Linked DNA regions of Homo sapiens: all the other regions are linked to region 1. Evidence: promoter capture Hi-C in 16 types of primary human blood cells and fetal thymus (Javierre and others, 2016). All regions are on one chromosome and are shown on one strand. The core of a region is centred on a gene start or on the middle of the fragment in contact, and the rest is flanking DNA. Distances in the headings are between cores, read along the strand shown.

Region 1 (2,784 bases), core at 29-2,528:
TTGTGGAAAACTGATTCTATCACCAAGGTAAGCAGCCTAAGCGCACCTGCTGGAAAGAAGGCAATCCTAAACTGTCTGTTAATAAAAAGTCAAGGTTTACAAATAAAAGGGGTGCAATGAAGAAAAGGGGCACACTTTAAATAAGAAGAGTAGGTAGGCACCTAAGCCCCACGCGCTTCTCCGAATAAGTCTGTCCTACAAGACTCCTGACAAACAGACCACCTAAGGACTGGCCGGCGCCACAGGGTGAATAAAGGACACCGGCAACCATAAACAAGTCACGCTTTTAAAAGCGAGACATACCAGCAAGGACACAATACCCTACTGAGCCAGCTTCGGCTGGCAGGCGCCGTGACCTCACCCAAAGCCACTGGTGTCACGGCTACTGCCACCGGTGCCGTCCCTTGCTCGGCAACTAACTGCCACCCGCTGGCATCTGCACGAGACCGCTATTTATAACCTCCCTAGGAAGCCGATTGGCCACGGCTGCAAATAGTCATTCCGGCTGTTGAGTTTGAACTAGCTCTGCCCAGGTCGCCCTCTCCGCTGTCTCTTCCTCCTCACCAGCCTAGGCCCCAGAAACTTGTACCCACCACCGCCAGACCGCCCCAACTCACACTCACAATTTGTGCTCGCAATCTCCTATGTCCCCAGCCGGACACCCTCTCCGAACTCCCTCAAGGGTCAAGCATACCTCAAGGGCATCCAGCTGCCACCTCTCTGGATGAACCGCCCATCGAAAGTCCTCTATGACCTCCCTCTCCACCACCCCCGATCTTGAGGGCCGAAATGACCCCGTACGACTCTCGCTGTCCCCCAAAGCTGCAAATATCTGCACCTGCACAGCTGCCGCCTCATTCCCTGCCCTCTTCGGGGACCCAGTTCCCAAATCCACCAGCCCACTCCCTTCGACATCGCCCCAGCAGGAGACGAGAAAGGGACACCAAGAGGCACGGTGCTTCTTCCCCACCTAAGCCTGCGGCCTGCGGACACCCCAATGCACCCTGCGCCCGGGACACCGCCGACCCCGCCCCGCTTTGCTCTTTGACAGGTCTCTCTCCCGGCGAGGGCCGTGGTCTTCAGGAAAGGCCCGAGCCCCTTTCCCAGCTGCGCCCTAGGCGCGCGCCCCGGCTGCCCGCACCCGCCAGTGCCGTCGCGCTCACCTGGGCCGGGAGGCTGACAGCCTTGGGCTGTGCCCTGAGGGCCGCGAGAGGACGTCGCGCTGGCAGACCCGGGCTTGGGCCCCGCGGCGCTGCGCCTCCAACCCGGAAGAACAGCCCCAACTCCGCGGCGGCGGGCGGCCACGTGACTGCAGCTCCGCTCCCACCTCGGCCCGCGCCCCTTCCCCGCCCCAGCTTTCTTCCCGCCAGGCCCCCTCCACCCGATCGCCGCGCGCTCTCCGAACCAAAAGGCGACCTCACGAAATGCCCCTTTGAGCTCAAAGGCTAGTTACCCCCAGGGGCCCTTCCACTCTCGGGGACAGGCGAAACCTCTTTGTCTCTGCCTCGGCCTGCGGCCCCCAGCCCAGCCTCCGCGCTTTCCCTCCGCCAGTCCTTGTCAATCAAACCTGGTGCCAAACGCGGCAGCTGAAGTTTTCAGGGACACATTTGCTTCTCCCCTTGAAGAACCAGTTACAAAGCGTGATGTCCTCTCTGGGGTCCCATCAGAACAAAGAAACAGGTAATATAACTCCACTCCGGGTACCTGCCTTTCCTCCAGCTCGCTAGGAAAAATCAGAACTTCTGTAACAGAGAGGACCCAAGGGAAAGGGGCAGGCGGAGAGGGGTTGGTGAAGGGCGGGAATGGGGGGCGTTGATTTTCCATTCTGGCAGGAGAGGTGGAGTTAAATTCCTCAGAAACGATGTCCAGGCTTGAAAAGTAACACACATCTGCGTGCTTGTCTTCCAACATCAGAGCCAGCCTAGAGGAAGCTGGCTAGTGTCACTGCTAGTACGAATATCCCCGAGGCTGGAAAGCATCTGGGTGGAGGTTGTGAGCTTTCCAGACCAGGCCTCGGCTGTTTTTCTAAAACTATTAACCGTAATGACCTAGTCGTTCTTTTCACACAGTTCTGTTACTTATTCTGCAGGTGTATTCTGACTAAAAGTGGGAGGAATAAAAAATAGAGTGTAAAATGGTTCACTTGCCCAAAACTTAATCATCATGAAGTGTCAGTAACGTCATTTATTTCTATTAATTGAAATTTTGATACAAGAAAAATAATTATGAATCTAAAAGGTATAAGCAGAACAGGTATTCCATAACTTTAAAAAGAAATGAGCCGCAGGGAAACCCTTAGTTTGAGAACTTGTCTTGTGATTAACCTACACAGAAGGTCATTCAACTAATGGATTCCCACTGCAGTCCAAACTCACAGACAGGAAATGACACAGCCCCATGTTTTAAAATAATAATGAGCCGTGGTAAGTGTGACCATAGGGACGGTTTCCAGATACTGAAGGTACAATGAAGTGAGATTAGTAATGATCCCACTTAGTAAGGATTTTAAACTAAGTTATTGATTTAAAACTTTTTGTAGGGGTCAGGAGTTGCTGCTTTGTCTTTTAGGGATTAATAATTCGTGGTTCCCAACTGGGGACAATTTAGTTCCGAGGGATATTTGGCAATGTCTAGAGACATTTTGGTTGTCACAATTGGAGAGGGGACCTATCTAATGGGTTGGGGCCAGGGATATTACTGAACACCTCACACTACACAGCCCCTCACGACGAAGCATTATCCAGCCCCAAATGTCAATAGTGCTGAGGCTGAAAAATCCTGGCT
Region 2 (2,745 bases), core at 164-2,663, 660 kb after region 1:
GGCATGCAGTGGCCTGATCTTGGCTCACTGCAACCTCCACCTCCTGGGTTCAAGTGATTCTTGTGATTCAGCCTCCTGTGTAGCTGGGATTACAGGCGTGCACCACCACGCCTGGCTAATTTTTTGTATTTTTAGTAGAGATGGGGTTTTGCTATGTTGGCCAGGCTGGTCTTGAACTCCGGGCCTCAAGTGATTCACTCACCTTGGCCACCCAAAGTGCTGGGATTACAGGAGTGAGCCACCCCACCTGGCCCACAATGGTAACTTTTTTAAATGATCTAAAACCAACTCTATACTCATAAATTCAACAAGTTAGATAGAATGGATCAACCCTGCAAGATCCACAGTCATCGTTAATGATATTGAATTCATGGTCAAAAAATCTTCCAAAAAACAAACCTAGAGTTTCTTACAATTTCATTGACTATTTTTTACCAAATATTTAAAGAATAAATAAGATGAATTCTACATGACTTATTCTAGTAAATAAAAGAATATGGAATACTTCCCAATTTATTTTATGAGATCAGCACTTTCCTGGCACACACAGTACGCTAAGAGAAAGCTACTGACCAATATTGCACCTAAGCATAGATGCAGAAATCCTCACCAAAATACTAACAAATGGCAGTCAGAAATATATGTTAAAGAACAATACCATGCCTTGGGCCAGGCGCAGTGGTTCACGCCTGTAATCCCAGCACTTTGGGAGGCCGAGGCCGGCGGATCACGAGGTTAGGAGATCGAGACCATTTTGGCTAACACAGTGATACCCTGTCTCTACTAAAAAAAAAAAATACAAAAAATTAGCCGGGGGTGGTAGTGGGTGCCTGTAGTCCCAGCTACTTGGGAGGCTGAGGCAGGAGAATGGCGTCAACCCGGAAGGCGGAGCTTGCAGTGAGCCGAGACCGCACCACTGCACTCCAGCCTGGGCGACAGAGCGAGACTCCGTCTCAAAAAAAATAAAGAACAATACCACGCCCAAGTAAGATTATTCCAGATGGAGGGCTAGTTTAATGCTCGAAAGTCAAATAATATAATTTGCCTTATTGATAGCCTAGATGAGAAACACCGTATAATCCTATCAAATGATGCACAAAAAGCACTTAAAATCTATACCATTTATGATTTAAAATTTAAAAACCAACTCTCAGCATCATGGGAACAGAGGGAATTTCCTCAACCAAAAAAAATCTACAAAAACCTATAGCAAACGTGGTATGTAATAATGACAGACTCAACGTTTTTCCCATGGAATCAGGAACAAGGCACAAATATCCACTCTCACCATTTCTATTCAACAATGTACTGGAATTGTTTGCCAGTGCAATAAGGTGAGAAAATGTGTTAAAAATCATAAAAATTGGAAGCGAAACAATGAAAATATCCATACCTGCAGAATATGAGTCTATGTAGAAAATCTTAAGGAGTCTAAAAGAAAAGTTCCAGCACTCATGAGTGAGTTTAGCAAGCTCTCAAGATATAACAGTGCAAACCCTCAGAGGGAAAAGTTCCAGGGACTTGGAACAAGAGAATTTCCTGCACTAAGTTCTCAGGCCTGCTGCCTGTTAACCACATTTCCTGTAGGCCCAGCCTGTGAGTCACCTGCCATGCACAACTCCTGGCTGATCCTTCCCTCCAGTCTCTGGATAAGACACACTACTTCTGCCCTGCAATCAGCAAACCTAGGCGACCCAGAGTCCCGTGCCAGTCCTGGCACCAGCAACCAGCCGCCCCGCTCCTATGCCCCGTCCTTACCTTCATCAGCAGGAACCCAGGTAACAGAAATTTAACATTTGTGTCCTATTTTATTTTATTTTATATTTTTGAGACAGAGTTTTGCTCTTGTTGCCCAGGCTGGAGTGCAATGACACCATCTCGGCTCACTGCAACCTCTGCCTCAGGGTTCAAGCGATTCTCCTGCCTCAGCCTCCCGAGTAGTTGGGATTACAGGCATGCGTCACCATGCCTGGCTTATTTTGTATTTTTAGTAGCGACGGGGTTTCACCATGTTGGTCAGGCTGTTCTCGAACTTCTGACCTCAAGTGATCCACCCGACTGGGCCTCCCAAATTGCTGGGATTACCGGCGTAAGCCACCGCGCCCGGCCACATTTGTGTACAATTTTATTGAGAAGGGGAAAGAAAATGGCACAAACTGATTTGAAGGCAAAACTTCTTCCATCGCGTTTGAGAGAACTCAGGTGTTACTGTAACATCATCTGTTACAAGACGATCGTCAATGGAAGGATCTCAGAGAAAATCTCAGGGCTCAGGACATCAAAGGCGGCGGTGGACACCTTCTTAGGGCGTCTGCCCTCAAGCGCATGCAATCTGCAGCCAGCAGTCTTGGAACTTCGGTTGGTGGCTTCGGCGGGACAGTAGTAGGCTGACACTCTGAAAGGTCTCCTCGGACGGACGTCTCCGGCCCCAGTCGTCTGTCCACGAAGCAAGGGGCGAGTTGAGAGGGATGCTGCGGGGGCAGGCGTCCGTTGGGACCCTCTGCAGTCTCCAGCTCTCCAGAGGGCGCCTGCGGCTACTCCTATTTGCCGGTGCCGGATTCAGAGCGGGCGACTTTGAGCCCCTTCTCAAAGTGCGCTGCGGTCTGGGAAAGAGATCTTTTCGCCTGCAGTTTCAGCAAAGAAGCACTCAGGGAGCGGAAAGTAGGTCGCAGTGGAACCTAGAAAGCTGTCCCAAGAGAGCTCGCAGTGGTAAGGACAGGAAGGGAGCATTCAGGACACCGAATT
Region 3 (2,700 bases), core at 201-2,700, 550 kb after region 1:
CCAGTTAAACAGTTAACAGGACTGTCTCGAGTCAGGTGGTGGGATTGCAGAATGGCATCCACCAAAGTTAGGCCTAAGCAATCATTCATTTAATAAGAGATATTTCCAGCCAGGTGTGGTGGCTCATGCCTATAATCCCAGCACTTTGGGAGGCCGAGGCGGGCGGATCACCTAGGGAGTTTGAGACCAGCCTGACCAACATGGAGAAACCCTGTCTCTACTAAAAATACAAAATTAGCCAGGTGTGGTGGCACATTCCTATAATCGCAGCTACTCAGGAGGCTGAGGCAGGAGAATCACTTGAACCCAGAAGGTGGAAGTTGCAATGAGCCGAGATTGTACCATTGCACTCCAGCCTGGGCAACAACAGCAAAACTCTGTCTCAAAAAAAAAAAAAAAAAAAGATATTTTCATTGAAACGAGAAAAGCAAAGGTTAATGATTGGAACTGACTATAAACTCAGTTTTTTTAGTCCAGAGGGCAGCCAGTCAGAAAGTTTTAGATGTTAAGCTTGAAGTATCTTCAGTTTGAATGGGGGCAGGCAGTGGCAATCTGACGGAATTTCCTGGTTTGCAGTTTGCATGAGGTGTTCTGGTGAAATTTCTGAGTAGTCCATGTATGAGTGGTGGTGATTTCTCTGCAGTCTATATTAACCCATCCAGCTTCAGCTGACAAGACTTCAGGAAAAGTGCAGTTTAATTTCAGCAGTTCAAAGCCAGAAGGGTAGAAGAAAAATCAGAAATATTAGTTTTAAGAGCCATAGCTAGACTTTTTTTTTTTTTAGGTGAAGTCTTGCTCTGTCGCCCAGGCTGGAGTACAGTGTCACCATCTCCACTCACTGCAACATTCACCTCTGTGTTCAAGCAATTCTCCTGCCCCTGCCTCCCGAGTAGCTAGAATTACAGGTGCACACCACCACACCCAGCTAATTTTTGTATTTTTTGTAGAGATGGGTTTTCACCATGTTGGCCAGGCTGGCCTCGAACTCCTAGCCTCAAGTGATCCACCTGCCTCAACCTGCCAAAGTGCTGGGATTACAGGCATGAGCCAATGCGTCCAGCCCTTTTTTTTTTTTTTTTTGAGATGGGGTCCTTGCTTTGTAATTGAGGCTGGAGTGCAGTGGCACAAACAAGGCTTACTGCAGCCTCAACCTCCTTGGCTCAAGCAATCCTTCCACCTCCACCTTCCAAGCAGCTGCAACCACAGGCGCATGCCTCCATGCCCAGCAAATTTTTGAACTTTTTGTAGAGACGGTGTTTCGCCTTTTGCCCAGGCTGGTCTCGAAGTCTTGGGCTTCAGCAATCCTCCCACCTCGACCTCCCAAAGTGCTGGGATTGCAGTTGCGAGCTCTGACACCCAGCCCATTGCCAGATATTACAGGAAACAAAAAATTCAAGATCCAGTCTAGATTTCAGGTAGACGAAAAAACCTCAAAAACAATGAGCTAGAGTCTAATAACAGGTGCACTATATTTTTTTCTCTGAAAGTTTTTTCTCTATACTTACTCCCTTTTTATCAAACATCATCAAAGTATTAGTAAGAGTAATCTGTTTGCAAAATAAATTTAGTGTCTTTAAAGTTGGCCTAATATTTACACAAGTGCAGCAGGAATAGTGTTTTACCACACAGGGTCTCTTTAAGTTGGCTTTTCTGGATCTTTTAATAAGGAATCTCAAATTAGACTTTTAAAAGCCTCTCAAGGCTAGGAAACCATACCAGGATCTTGCTATCACACTTTGCCTGGAATACCTATAGATTTCGGTGAATTCTTCCCTTGTCAAGGTCCTCCAAATATCCTGATGTTCCTCAGCCTGCCAGGAAGTGACATTTCTTACCCACCTGTAAGGCCAGGAACCCTTTTAAACCAGACCAGTTTCTCAAGTCTGAGTGTGTTGTTTCTGTTCCTAAAAACCACAAAAGAAAGAAAACAGTGATATTACATTCAACGTGGTAACAACTCTGAATCTTTGTTCTAACAGTGGAAATATAATATCTCTAGGGATTAAGCCCGGTCTCCAGAATGTACCCGGGCCATAGGAAAATAACATCCAGATGTTTTTTAACAGCACCTACAAGGACGAGCTGAGGGTTTCTCAGTATAGGGGAAACTGTCACAAGGTGTACCCTCTTTTCTTTTGAAGCAGTAAAAGCAGTTCTCATTCTTCCCCATTCTTTGTTCAAAGCATATGAGATATGAGCCAGCTTTATAGTTATTGTCATGCTACCTTACATGCATGTAAATCTGTTAAGGCTAATTCAATACTAGTGTTCTGTCTCTCTTCTGTTGGGTACACAGGGGTCTTTTTGTGTCAGGATTGTTTTATTTCTCCCACAGTGGATATATTCTTCCCCTTTCTTTCATCCTAAGTGGATTATTCTTAGAAGCTTATCCTAAGTGGATTATTCTTAGATAGGGCTTCCTAGAAGATGGTTCCATGTGATCAAGCAAACTGTTGTGTTCAAGGTAGGTTCAGTTAATAGTACCCAATGTTCATAAAAGTAGTGGGGGATTCTCTTTAAAAAAAAGAATAAAAATTTTGAGTACAAAATTACAGACCTGTTCAAACGGATCCTAAAAGCTAAGCTTCCTTAGCTGCATGGTAAATTCGCCTCTGACCCTGCGTGATACCCAGTATGGGCCAATAAGGTAGTGTTGCAGGAAACTGAGGACCAGAGAGACTGATATGGAGAACAGGAGGA
Region 4 (2,801 bases), core at 262-2,761, 580 kb after region 1:
TTGCTTTTACATGTTATTTATATTATGTTACATCCTCCAAGAATTAGCGTGTCATAACTTAGAGAATAAAGAACTCAGCTGATATAGGGGTCAACTAATCTGATAAACTTAGGAAGAAAATGTAGAAATATACCATCAAGCGTTATCAGTTACAGCTTTCTTACAAATGCCTTTGCTACATCTTTGGCCAACCTGATAATTTATGGAGTCAATATCATATACGTGGGCACTGTATCATCAGTAGTTTAACAATTCAATCAAAACTAAATCAAAACTTCCACCTTTATCTAATCATGTATCATTTTTGCCTAGAGGCCAGCAGGCCATCTTGGGCAGAAGACTACAAGATTTTTTTAGTCTAGATACCTCCCATTTAGTTCACTGAAAGCCATTAATTGCTTTCTCTTTGTCCATGGCTGTAACAAACGTTTATTTTTATTTTGGAGGCAAGGTTTCACTCTGTAGCTCAGGCTAGAATGCAGTGGTATCATCACAGCTCACTTCAGCCTTGAACTCCTGGGCTCAAACAATTATGTTGCCTCAGCCTCCTGTGTGGCTGGGACTACAAGCAGACACCAACACATCCAGCTAATTTTTTTTTTTTTTTTTTTTTTACTAGAGATGGTATTTTACTATGTTGCCTGGGCTAGTTTTGAGTTTTTGGCCTCAAGTGATCCTCCTGCCTCAGCCTCCCATAGTGCTGGGATTACAGGCATGAGCCACTATGCCCGGCCCATAATAAAGTTTTCTAGTCTTAGAATCTTTGTACTTTATATTCTCTCATGATGGTAACTCCACCTTTTTTTTTTTTTTTTTGAGACAGGGTCTTGCTCTGTTGCCCAGGCTGGAGTACAGTGGTGTGTTCTCAGCTCACTGCAAGCTCTGCCTCCCGGGTTCAAATGATTCTCTCGCCTCAGCCTACTGAGTAACTTGAGATTACAGGTGTGGGCCACCACGCCCAGCAAATTTTCTTATATTTTTAGTAGAGATGGCATTTCACCATGTTCGCCAGGATGGTCTTGAACTCCTTGCCTCAAGTGATCCGCCTGCCTTGGCCTCCCAAAGTGCTAGGAGTACAAGTGCGAGCCACTGCACCCAGCCTAGGTTGGTTTGTTTGTTTTTTGGTGTTGTTCATTGCATTACTCATATCGAAGTGGAAGTATCTGTGACAATTCTATCCTTACTATAGTAGCTAATATAATATCCTCCTAGTTACCTTTTCAACTAAGTTGCGTTAAGTTTCTTGATAACATTTATCATATAAACACGGTTTTATTTATTTATTTGTTGTCATGCTTTTTTTTTTTTTTTACAATCCATGAAGGTGTCAAACACTTTATGGCCAAGTCCATGTCTGCTTGTTGATTACTTATCTCTGGGACCTTGTTCACTATGTAGTACAATATAGACACTTGGTATTTGTTAATGAAGACATGATAAATGTATTAAAATCTTGGGTGTGGTGGCTTATGCCTGTAATCCCAGCACTTTGGGAGGCTGAGGTGGGAGGATTGCTTGAGCCCAAGAGTTTGAGATCAGCCTGGGCAGCAGAGGGAGACTCTATCTCTACAAAATTTTTAAAATTCTCTGAGTGTATGGTGCGTGCCTGTAGCCTCAGCTACTTGGTAGGCTTAGGTGGGAGGATTGCTTGAGTCTAGGAGATTAAGGCTGAAGTGAGCAGTGATTATGCCACCACACTGCAGTATAGGTGACAGATTGAGACCCTGTCTCAAAAAGCAAACATCAACAACAACAACAACAAAAAGGGTAGTCTCAGAGCTCTATAACTGATTATAAACCACTCTACGAAAGGATCTAAGTAAAACAATAATTGTAGATGACAAAAGTCTTACAATAGCCATGGTTTAAGACACAACTGACAAAGAAATGTGGTTATATCTATGATATATAACATTTGAATATAATAATCATAATTAGTTCTGAAAACATATACTAAGACATATCACAATCAGAAGAATCTCATACAATTTTAAAACACTAATAACACATTTACATAAATACAATGCAAAGATGGTTACATATCATTTTATATTTGATAATACTTCTTGTGTGATTATACCAACTAAGCCAAATATGTCTCTTTGGATTTCAGGGGACTCAATGTCAAAAAAACTAATGAGATGAAAATGACTGAATTTAGAATTGGATTTTGGAAAGTTTGTCAAACATCAAAGACTTAAAACACTTGATATCACAAAACAGGATCACAGGTTATCGGGGGACCTGCGCCGATAATCACGTAGGTTCTTTTCTATTTTCCTAAGCGTCGACTGGCTTGAGAAATAAAAGAACAGAGTACAAAAGAGAGAAATTTTAAAGCTGGGCGTCCGGGGGAGACATCACACATTGGTAGGATCTGTGATGCCCCACAAGCCACCGAAACCAGCAGGTTTTTTTAGGGATTTTCAAAAGGGGAGGGAGTGTGCGAATAGGTGTGGGTGACAGACATCAAGTACTTAACAGGGTAATAGAATATCACAAGGCAAGTGGAGGCAGGGCGAGATCACAGGACCACAGGACCGAAACGAAATTAAAATTGCTAATGAAGTTTTGGCACCATTGTCACTGATATTATCTTATCAGGAGACAGGGTTTTGAGATCAACTGGTCTGACCAAAGTTTATTAGGCGGGAATTTCCTCTTCCTAATAAGCCTGGGAGCGCTATGGGAAACTGGAGTTTATTTCACCTCTGCAATCTCGACCATAAGAGACAGGTACGCCCCGGGGCGGCCAGTTCAGAGACCTACCCCTAGGTGCGCATTCTCTTTCTCAGGGACGG
Region 5 (2,700 bases), core at 43-2,542, 690 kb after region 1:
AGAATGAGACATAGTAGGTGTAATTGTCTAGGCTGCTCTGCAATAAGGACACACTTTGTGTAGTGAATAGACAGTAAGTAACTGGTTCGTGCCACCAGTGGGACATCTCCATTGCTCCCTTTCCTTGGCTGATTCAATCATAGCAACCCAGAAGCGTTTTCAGAGTATCTTCCAGAATGATACAATTTTCACCTTAATCCTATCAGGTTCTGAACCAATTTGCAAGGCAAATTAGTGTTAATCCCCTGCTTATTTGAATAGCTGGTTTCTGGCCTATATACAAGACAAAACATACTGTAAAAACAGACACTCAGTACTAGCCAGTGTTATTTACCTCTTTTCCTATCTCAACTATATTGCTGGCCTTGTCACAAGACTGAACCCATGGAGTTCTGTCCATTAAACCTGGAAGAACAGTCCTGGAGGTAAGCAGGTCCAGAGTGCATGTCATATGCCACCAGGTCAGGACCGTGAACAAACCTGAGGCTGGGCACTAGATCACTTGCTGTGTTGAGCCACCATGCCTGCCAATGCCCTTAGCTCTGTGAGGATGTAAAATCAGGTATGTGTGGGCTGCTGTGCTGGGTTTCCAGCAGGCACGGAGCTGTTCCCAGGCTCAAGAGGGGTCCAATGGCCATCAAAACCCACATGTCCAGGAGTCAGTGGCTGAAACCACAAAGGAGCTCCAGTCACCTTAAAGAAAGATGGATTCTACCAATGGCAGGGTTCAATGGTCCCAAACCAGCCAGGAGATGCCAACGCTTGTGGAGCTGAACAGACACATACTGAGGATGCCTTCATAAACTACTCACAATCAGGGCTTGAAATACAGAGCAACCCAGGAAGGGGAGGGGGGTACAAACCTTTTGTTGCTCCTGGCTCACAGTGAGATAGGAGTTTGGCAGGACTAGTTTTGCAAGACAAACAGGAGGCTAGGTCCCCAAGACACAGGTCACAATACCCTCTTGATAAGACATGATTCCTTTAAAAAAAAAAAAAAAAAAAAGCCCAAACCAGTTAGAAGGAAGATGGCTACATAAGCAACCTCTGGTTACCCTCGTTGCTCATTATATGCTCATTATTATGCATTGGGATGCTAAAAGACACTAACACCCGAGCAATCACTGTGACTGTTTACAAATGCCATTGCAATGCCCAAGAGTTACTCTGTATATTCTGTAAGGGGGAGAAACTCCTGGTTCCACAAGCTCCCACCCCTTTCCCAGATAACTAAAGAAATAATTGACCCCTTGTTTAGCATATAATCCAGAAATAGCCATAAAATAGCCAGCTAGCCACCCTGGCCCCATTGCTACCCTGACTATGGGGTAGCCTCCTTTTTGTTCCTTAGTTTCCTTAATAAACTTGCTTTCACATTACTCTGTTGGCTTGCTCTTGAATTCTTTCTGGCTCAAAGTCAAGTATCTACTTGGTCTCCCAGGCTAAACTCCAATTTTAGGGGTATCCTTGCATCAACAGCACCACTGCCTTCAGCCAATTCCCCGGAAGGAGCTCCTCACACCCCAGTGGAGACCCTCATTATGTTATTGTAAACTTCCTTGGGACTGTTCATCTAGGAACAAGAAGTCTCTATGATGGAGATAATTCCTTATATAGTTCTTCCTCTCCAAAGTGCCTTAAAGTTTTCTCAATTATACAACTTTGATTTATATGTAATCAAGAATATGCTAAGGGGCTTTACTTTTAGATCAACTCAGAATTCATAGTTCTTTGTACATGACAATTGAAGCCTGTTCCTTATTCTCCACCTGTGTGGAGTCAGGACTGCTCTCTGCGGTCCAGGCTGTCCCCGGAAGCTGCTGAAAACCGACGATTCCATCAAGAAGGAACCCGGAAAGGAGAGAAACCCCTGCCTTTCTGCAGGCCTGCAGTAGGACCTGCTTCAACTGCTGCCCTGGAAGGAGCCCGAGGCACCTCAGTGGGAACCCTCATGCTGTCTCTGGGGACTTTTGCACTGGAACTGTGCCCTGCACGCATAAGAGCCTTGAGGTCTTTGCTGTGGAGATCATTCCATAATTTGTTCTTCCTCTCCTGAATGTCCTAAACATTTTTATTTAGAAAAACTCTCTTCATGTAGTGAATAATATGCAATGTGCTAAGGAACTTTTCTTTTAGATCTACTCAAAATTGTGATGGTTCTTCCATCGAAACTGTACACATTGATTAAAGCCTTTCCCTTATTCTCCAACTGTGGAATCAAAACTAGTAAATCAAGGTTGGTATAGATGGGCCTGAAGCAGACAGAAAGGGGGCAGGGACCTAGCTCAGAGCTTTTTCTTTTTCTTTTGAGTCTTATTATTATTTAAGATGGGGGTCTCGCTGGGTCGCCTAGGCCGGTGTGCAGTGGCGTGATCAGGCTTTAGTCTAAATTCCAGGGGCCTTTGAGGAGCTGTGGATACTAACAGGGTGGGAGGGGACAGCTGGGTGGATCATATGCTGGAGTTGCTTTGAAACTGACTGTGGCCCTCCAAATAAAGGCAGAAAACAGGCATTAGCACTGTTCTTTAAATCAGGGGTCCCCAATCCCCCCCACCACGGACCGGTTAGGAACCCGGCCCCAAAGCAGGAGCTGAGCAGTGGGCAAGCGAGCATTACTGGCTGAGCTCCGCCTAGCGTCAGATCTGCTGCATTAAATTCTCACAGGAGTGCGAACCCTATTGTGAACTGCGCATGCGCAGG
Region 6 (2,700 bases), core at 2-2,501, 520 kb after region 1:
AATTAAACTTTGGGACCCCAAACTCATTTAGCCAAAGGGAAAAGTTAAGCTGGGAACTGGGTCACACAAACCTGCCTCCCGCTTTTGATTCCTAAATAAGATGGCTACAAGATGAAAAGCTACATGCCTCTCCCATATTTTGCCCACAGGGAAATTCCTGGTGAGCTGTTAAAACTTCACCATGGCAATGCAAATTGATAGCTTATCTTTACATGTGCAGTCACCCTGCTCGCCAGACACAAATGCATATCTGATTGTTCCCTCTACCCCATTTTGTCTGTTATCTTATGTAAAATGCAGATTCCCCATATTTTTCCTCTGCCCCTTTGGTTTATGTGAAAACTGTGCGCTTCTCAATATCCTGCCCTTTCCCCTTTAAATTTGGAGCCCTCAAAATCATCATCAGAGAAAGGCATAGACCTGTCTCCCAGGCATGTCCTTAACTTTGGCAAATAAACCTCCTAAAATGATTGAGACTTATCTTGTCATTTTCCTCAATTGACAGTTCTATGTAGTCTTTTAAACTTTTTCTCTGAATATTATGTTGCTATAATGCAGCCATGATTTTGAGTAATGTTGTAGTTTATTCTGATTTTTGTAAAATATTCCGTTCTGTGAATATAATATGTTCCTTTCTATCCGCTCTCCTATTGTTGGAGTTTTAGTTCCTTCCTCCTCAGCAAATTTTTGTTACTGTGAACAGTACATATATGGACATTCTCTTCCATGTTTCCTTGTGTGCATGTGCAAGAATTTCCCTTGGATATAGACCTAAGAATGGAATCAGTGGCTTATGAGATATTCCTAAACTTGTTTACTCTATCTTTCCATTTTAACAGGAAAGTTCTTACTTCTGTCTTATTCTTTGTAGACTACCATTGAATAAAGGCCTCAATCAACCATCCATACCTACTGCAGATTCTTCTAGATGCTGATGTATGCGGAACCCAGAATTTCTATTCTTGGCACCCATATAAGTAAATTTTATTTGTTCTGCATTATGTTCTAGTTTTCTTGATATAGCACTTTAAAAAATCATTTTCATACAAATTCATATGGTTTCTGCAAATATAAATTAACTGTCTCTTGCAACTGTTTTGATATGTAAGCAATGACACCCAAATTCAGATTTCATTGTTGTCCCTTAGGGGTATCCTAGTATCTGACTCTAGTTAGGGGGTTAGAATTAGTTATACTGGCTATGAGACTTCTGTTGAATTGACATTCTTTTAGGAGCTGTCTCAAGTAAGAGCTTTCTAGTATCTTCAAACAAAAAAAAGGACTCACCTACTCAGACAGAAAGTCTATTTTTTAAAGGACGCTTAGAGAGATTTGTGGGGTTCAAGGTTATTATATTTATAAAGATCTACCCAAATTTACCCCTTTGATTTCAGAGTCCCATTACTTGCTAATCAATCCCATTGCTTATACATAAAAGATATGGTAAAGGTGAATTCACCATATATATATAAAATTTAGAGACAGAGTCTCAATATATTCTCTAGGCTGGCTTTGAACTCACTTCCAGCAATCCTCCTCTGGCCTCAGCCTTTTGAGTAGGTGAGACAACAGGTATGTGCCACCCTGCTTGGCCTTCACCTTATATTGTTTTTTTTTGAGACGGAGTCTCACTCTGTCACCGAGGCTGGAGTGCAGTGGCGCAATCTCGGCTCACTGCAACCTCCAGCTCCCGGGTTCAAGCAATTCTCCTGCCTCAGCCTCCTGAGTAGCTGGGACTATAGGCACATGCCGCCAGGCCTGGCTAATTTTTTGTGTTTTAGTAGAGACGGGGTTTCACAACGTTGCCCAGGCTGGTCTCGAACTCCTGAGCTCAGGCAATCCACTCGCCTCGGCCTCCCATAGTGGTGTAGTGGTGCAGCTCACCATAGCCTCCAACTTCAGCCTGGGTGCACTTCAGCCTGGGTGACAGAGCAAGACTCTGTCTCAAAAACAAAACAAACAAACAAAATTTTACATTGGTTTATTAAAATAACATAAGCTATTGTTGGCTATACATTTTTCTTTATGTCACTAATTTCAGGAAAAAGAAGGTAATGAGTGAGACTCACATTGCCCAACTTGTGGTAACATTTTAGGTTATTAGTCTGGAAACAACAGGAAAGAAAAAAAAAACCACCAAAATTTATTTATTTATTTAGAGATGGAATTTCGCTCTTGTTGCCCAGGCTGGAGTGCAATGGTGCGATCTTGGCTCACTGCAACCTCTACCTCCTGGGTTCAAGCGATTCTCCTGCCTCGGCCTCCCGAGTAGCTAGGATTACAGGCGCCCACCACCACACCTGGCTAATTTTTTGTATTTTTAGTAGAGATGGTGTTTCACCATGTTGGCTAGGCCGGTCTCAAACTCCTGACCTCAGGTGATCCACCCACCTCGGCCTCCCAAAGTGCTGGGATTACAGGCATGAGATACCGCGCCCGGCTCCAAATTTATTTTTTGCTTATTTATTTTTTATTTATCTTAACTTTTTTAGAGATGGGTTTTCTCTCCGTTGCCCAGGGTGAAATGCAGTAGCCTGATTATAGCCTGCTGCAGTCTCAAACTCCTGGGCTTATGTGATCCTCCCATCTCAGCCTGCTGAGTAGCTGGGATTACAGGCAAGAGCTGAGTCGCCGCCCCTGTCAAAATGCCTTGAAACAGTTATTCCTGGGTATGGCTGAGAGGGATATGACTGAAGGCTC
Region 7 (2,771 bases), core at 104-2,603, 620 kb after region 1:
TTATGTTACTGCACAGCAGATATCCAAACCTGTTGGTCCTGTAACGATCAGGCACATCTTTTGTATTGGTTTGTCTTGTGTTTTTTTTTTTTTTTTTTTTTTTCCAGATGGCCTAATTGGATTATTTCAGCAAGCTAAGTAATTTGAAGAGAGAGGCTAAGCCAATGTAGTACTAGAGCTACACTGGCCTTCTTTGGCTTAACATTTGTCTGGAATTATAATTTCCTCAATCTAAGAAACTAGTCATTGTAAGATGTGTCATTATTTCTTTTTTTATTTTTTATTTTCTTAGTATTTATTGATCATTCTTGGCTGTTTCTCAGAGAGGGGGATTTGGCAGGGTCATAGGACAATAGTGGAGGGAAGGTCAGCAGATAAACATGTGAACAAAGCTCTCTGGTTTTCCTAGGCAGAGCGCCCCGCCGCCGCCTTCCGCAGTGTTTGTGTCCCTGGGTACTTGAGATTAGGGAGTGGTGATGACTCTTAACGAGCATGCTGCCTTCAAGCATCTGTTTAACAAAGCACATCTTGCACCGCCCTTAATCCATTTAACCCTTAGTGGACACAGCACATGTTTCAGAGAGCACGGGGTTGGGGGTAAGGTTATAGATTAACAGCATCCCAAGGCAGAAGAATTTTTCTTAGTACAGAACACAATGGAGTCTCCTATGTCTAGTTCTTTCTACACAGACACAGTAACAATCTGATCTCTTTCTTTTTTTTTTTTTTTTTTTGTGTTTAAACAGCTTTATTTTTTTTTTTTAATTGATCATTCTTGGGTGTTTCTCGCAGAGGAGGATTTGGCAGGGTCATAGGACAATAGTGGAGGGAAGGTCAGCAGATAAACAAGTGAACAAAGGTCTGTGGTTTTCCTAGGCAGAGGACCCTGCGGCCTTCCGCAGTGTTTGTGTCCCTGGGTACTTGAGATTAGGGAGTGGTGATGACTCTTAACGAGCATGCTGCCTTCAAGCATCTGTTTAACAAAGCACATCTTGCACCGCCCTTAATCCATTTAACCCTTAGTGGACACAGCACATGTTTCAGAGAGCACGGGGTTGGGGGTAAGGTTATAGATTAACAGCATCCCAAGGCAGAAGAATTTTTCTTAGTACAGAACACAATGGAGTCTCCTATGTCTAGTTCTTTCTACACAGACACAGTAACAATCTGATCTCTTTCTTTTTTTTTTTTTTTTTTTGTGTTTAAACAGCTTTATTTTTTTTTTTTAATTGATCATTCTTGGGTGTTTCTCGCAGAGGAGGATTTGGCAGGGTCATAGGACAATAGTGGAGGGAAGGTCAGCAGATAAACAAGTGAACAAAGGTCTGTGGTTTTCCTAGGCAGAGGACCCTGCGGCCTTCCGCAGTGTTTGTGTCCCTGGGTACTTGAGATTAGGGAGTGGTGATGACTCTTAACGAGCATGCTGCCTTCAAGCATCTGTTTAACAAAGCACATCTTGCACCGCCCTTAATCCATTTAACCCTGAGTGGACACAGCACATGTTTCAGAGAGCACAGGGTTGGGGGTAAGGTCACAGATCAACAGGATCCCAAGGCAGAAGAATTTTTCTTAGTACAGAACAAAATGAAAAGTCTCCCATGTCTACTTCTTTCTACACAGACACGGCAACCATCCGATTTCTCAATCTTTTCCCCACCTTTCCCCCCTTTCTATTCCACAAAACCGCCACTGTCATCATGGCCCGTTCTCAATGAGCTGTTGGGTACACATCCCAGACGGGGTGGTGGCCGGGCAGAGGGGCTCCTCACTTCCCAGTAGGGGCGGCTGGGCAGAGGCGCCCCTCACCTCCCAGACGGGGCGGCTGGCCGGGCGGGGGGCTGACCCTCCCCACCTCCCTCTCGGACGGGGCGGCTGGCCGGGCGGGGCGCTGACCCCCCCACCTCCCTCCCGGACGGGGTGGCTGCCGGGCGGAGACGCTCCTCACTTCCCAGACGGGGTGGCTGCCGGGCGGAGGGGCTCCTCACTTCTCAGACGGGGCGGTTGCCAGGCGGGGGGTCTCCTCACTTCTCAGACGGGGCGGCTAGGCAGTGACGCTCCTCACCTCCCAGACGGGGTCGCGGCCGGGCAGAGGTGCTCCTCACATCCCAGATGAGGTGGCGGGGCAGAGGCGCTCCCCACATCTCAGACGATGGGTGGCCGGGCAGAGACGCTCCTCACTTCCTAGATGGGATGGCGGCCGGGAAGAGGCGCTCCTCACTTCCTAGATGGGATGGCGGCCGGGCAGAGACACTCCTCACTTTCCAGACTGGGCAGCCAGGCAGAGGGGCTCCTCACGTCCCAGACGATGGGCGGCCAGGCAGAGACGCTCCTCAATTCCCAGACGGGGTGTCGGCCTGGCAGAGGCTGCACTCTCAGCACTTTGGGAGGCCAAGGCAGGCGGCTGGGAGGTGGAGGTTGTAGCGAGCCGAGATCACGCCACTGCACTCCAGCCTGGGCACCATTGAGCACTGAGTGAACCAGACTCCGTCTGCAATCCCGGCACCGCGGGAGGCCGAGGCTGGCGGATCACTGGCGGTTAGGAGCTGGAGACCAGCCCGGCCAACACAGCGAAACCCCGTCTCCACCAAAAAAATACGAAAACCAGTCAGGCGTGGCGGCGCGCGCCTGCAATCGCAGGCACTCCGCAGGCTGAGGCAGGAGAATCAGGCAGGGAGGTTGCAGTGAGCCGAGATGGCAGCAGTACAGTCCAGCTTCGGCTCGGCATCAGAGGGAGACCGTGGAAAGAGAGGGAGAGGGAGACCATGGAGAGA

The links. Contacts are between HindIII fragments. The CHiCAGO score rates a contact against its expected background, and 5 or more counts as called.
Region 2: a fragment that was not itself captured here is called in contact with the fragment with the promoter of NNT in region 1 in 1 of 17 cell types (non-activated CD4 T cells); the score reaches 6.6 in non-activated CD4 T cells.
Region 3: a contact is called between a fragment that was not itself captured here and the fragment with the promoter of NNT in region 1, in 1 of 17 cell types (fetal thymus). The highest score is 8.5, in fetal thymus.
Region 4: a fragment that was not itself captured here is called in contact with the fragment with the promoter of NNT in region 1 in 2 of 17 cell types (fetal thymus and M0 macrophages); the score reaches 5.5 in fetal thymus.
Region 5: a contact is called between a fragment that was not itself captured here and the fragment with the promoter of NNT in region 1, in 1 of 17 cell types (naive CD8 T cells). The highest score is 5.2, in naive CD8 T cells.
Region 6: a fragment that was not itself captured here is called in contact with the fragment with the promoter of NNT in region 1 in 6 of 17 cell types (naive CD4 T cells, total CD4 T cells, non-activated CD4 T cells and 3 more); the score reaches 9.6 in naive CD4 T cells.
Region 7: a fragment that was not itself captured here is called in contact with the fragment with the promoter of NNT in region 1 in 1 of 17 cell types (non-activated CD4 T cells); the score reaches 5.2 in non-activated CD4 T cells.

Annotation. Positions count from the first base shown.
Region 1 is chr5:43,601,674-43,604,457 of GRCh38, reverse strand. It overlaps NNT (nicotinamide nucleotide transhydrogenase), which reads right to left and starts at 1,278. Exons shown (of 22, transcript NM_182977.3): 1 at 1,164-1,278. NNT-AS1 (NNT antisense RNA 1) reads left to right here and starts at 1,228. Exons shown (of 3, transcript NR_073113.1): 1 at 1,228-1,680. RefSeq lists silencers at 1,018-1,237, 1,358-1,447, 1,711-1,930. The HindIII fragment of the contact is 7,409 bases long and covers 1-2,784 here.
Region 2 is chr5:42,944,021-42,946,765 of GRCh38, reverse strand. No RefSeq gene overlaps it. Among named protein-coding and RNA genes, the nearest start is that of FLJ32255, 48 kb to the left of the region's middle. The HindIII fragment of the contact is 7,406 bases long and covers 1-2,745 here.
Region 3 is chr5:43,049,763-43,052,462 of GRCh38, reverse strand. All of the region lies in intron 2 of ANXA2R-OT1 (ANXA2R overlapping transcript 1), which reads left to right. Among named protein-coding and RNA genes, the nearest start is that of ANXA2R-AS1, 9.0 kb to the right of the region's middle. The HindIII fragment of the contact is 1,875 bases long and covers 513-2,387 here.
Region 4 is chr5:43,025,305-43,028,105 of GRCh38, reverse strand. All of the region lies in intron 2 of ANXA2R-OT1 (ANXA2R overlapping transcript 1), which reads left to right. It overlaps LOC105374748 (a long non-coding RNA gene), which reads right to left. Exons shown (of 3, transcript NR_188279.1): 3 at 410-2,801. Among named protein-coding and RNA genes, the nearest start is that of ANXA2R, 14 kb to the left of the region's middle. The HindIII fragment of the contact is 4,980 bases long and covers 1-2,801 here.
Region 5 is chr5:42,909,007-42,911,706 of GRCh38, reverse strand. No RefSeq gene overlaps it. Among named protein-coding and RNA genes, the nearest start is that of FLJ32255, 83 kb to the left of the region's middle. The HindIII fragment of the contact is 5,021 bases long and covers 1-2,700 here.
Region 6 is chr5:43,079,139-43,081,838 of GRCh38, reverse strand. The region is part of intron 2 of LOC100506639 (a long non-coding RNA gene); the gene reads right to left. Among named protein-coding and RNA genes, the nearest start is that of ANXA2R-OT1, 13 kb to the right of the region's middle. The HindIII fragment of the contact is 4,908 bases long and covers 1-2,700 here.
Region 7 is chr5:42,979,830-42,982,600 of GRCh38, reverse strand. No RefSeq gene overlaps it. Among named protein-coding and RNA genes, the nearest start is that of FLJ32255, 12 kb to the left of the region's middle. RefSeq lists enhancers at 201-1,026, 1,027-1,852. The HindIII fragment of the contact is 9,477 bases long and covers 1-2,771 here.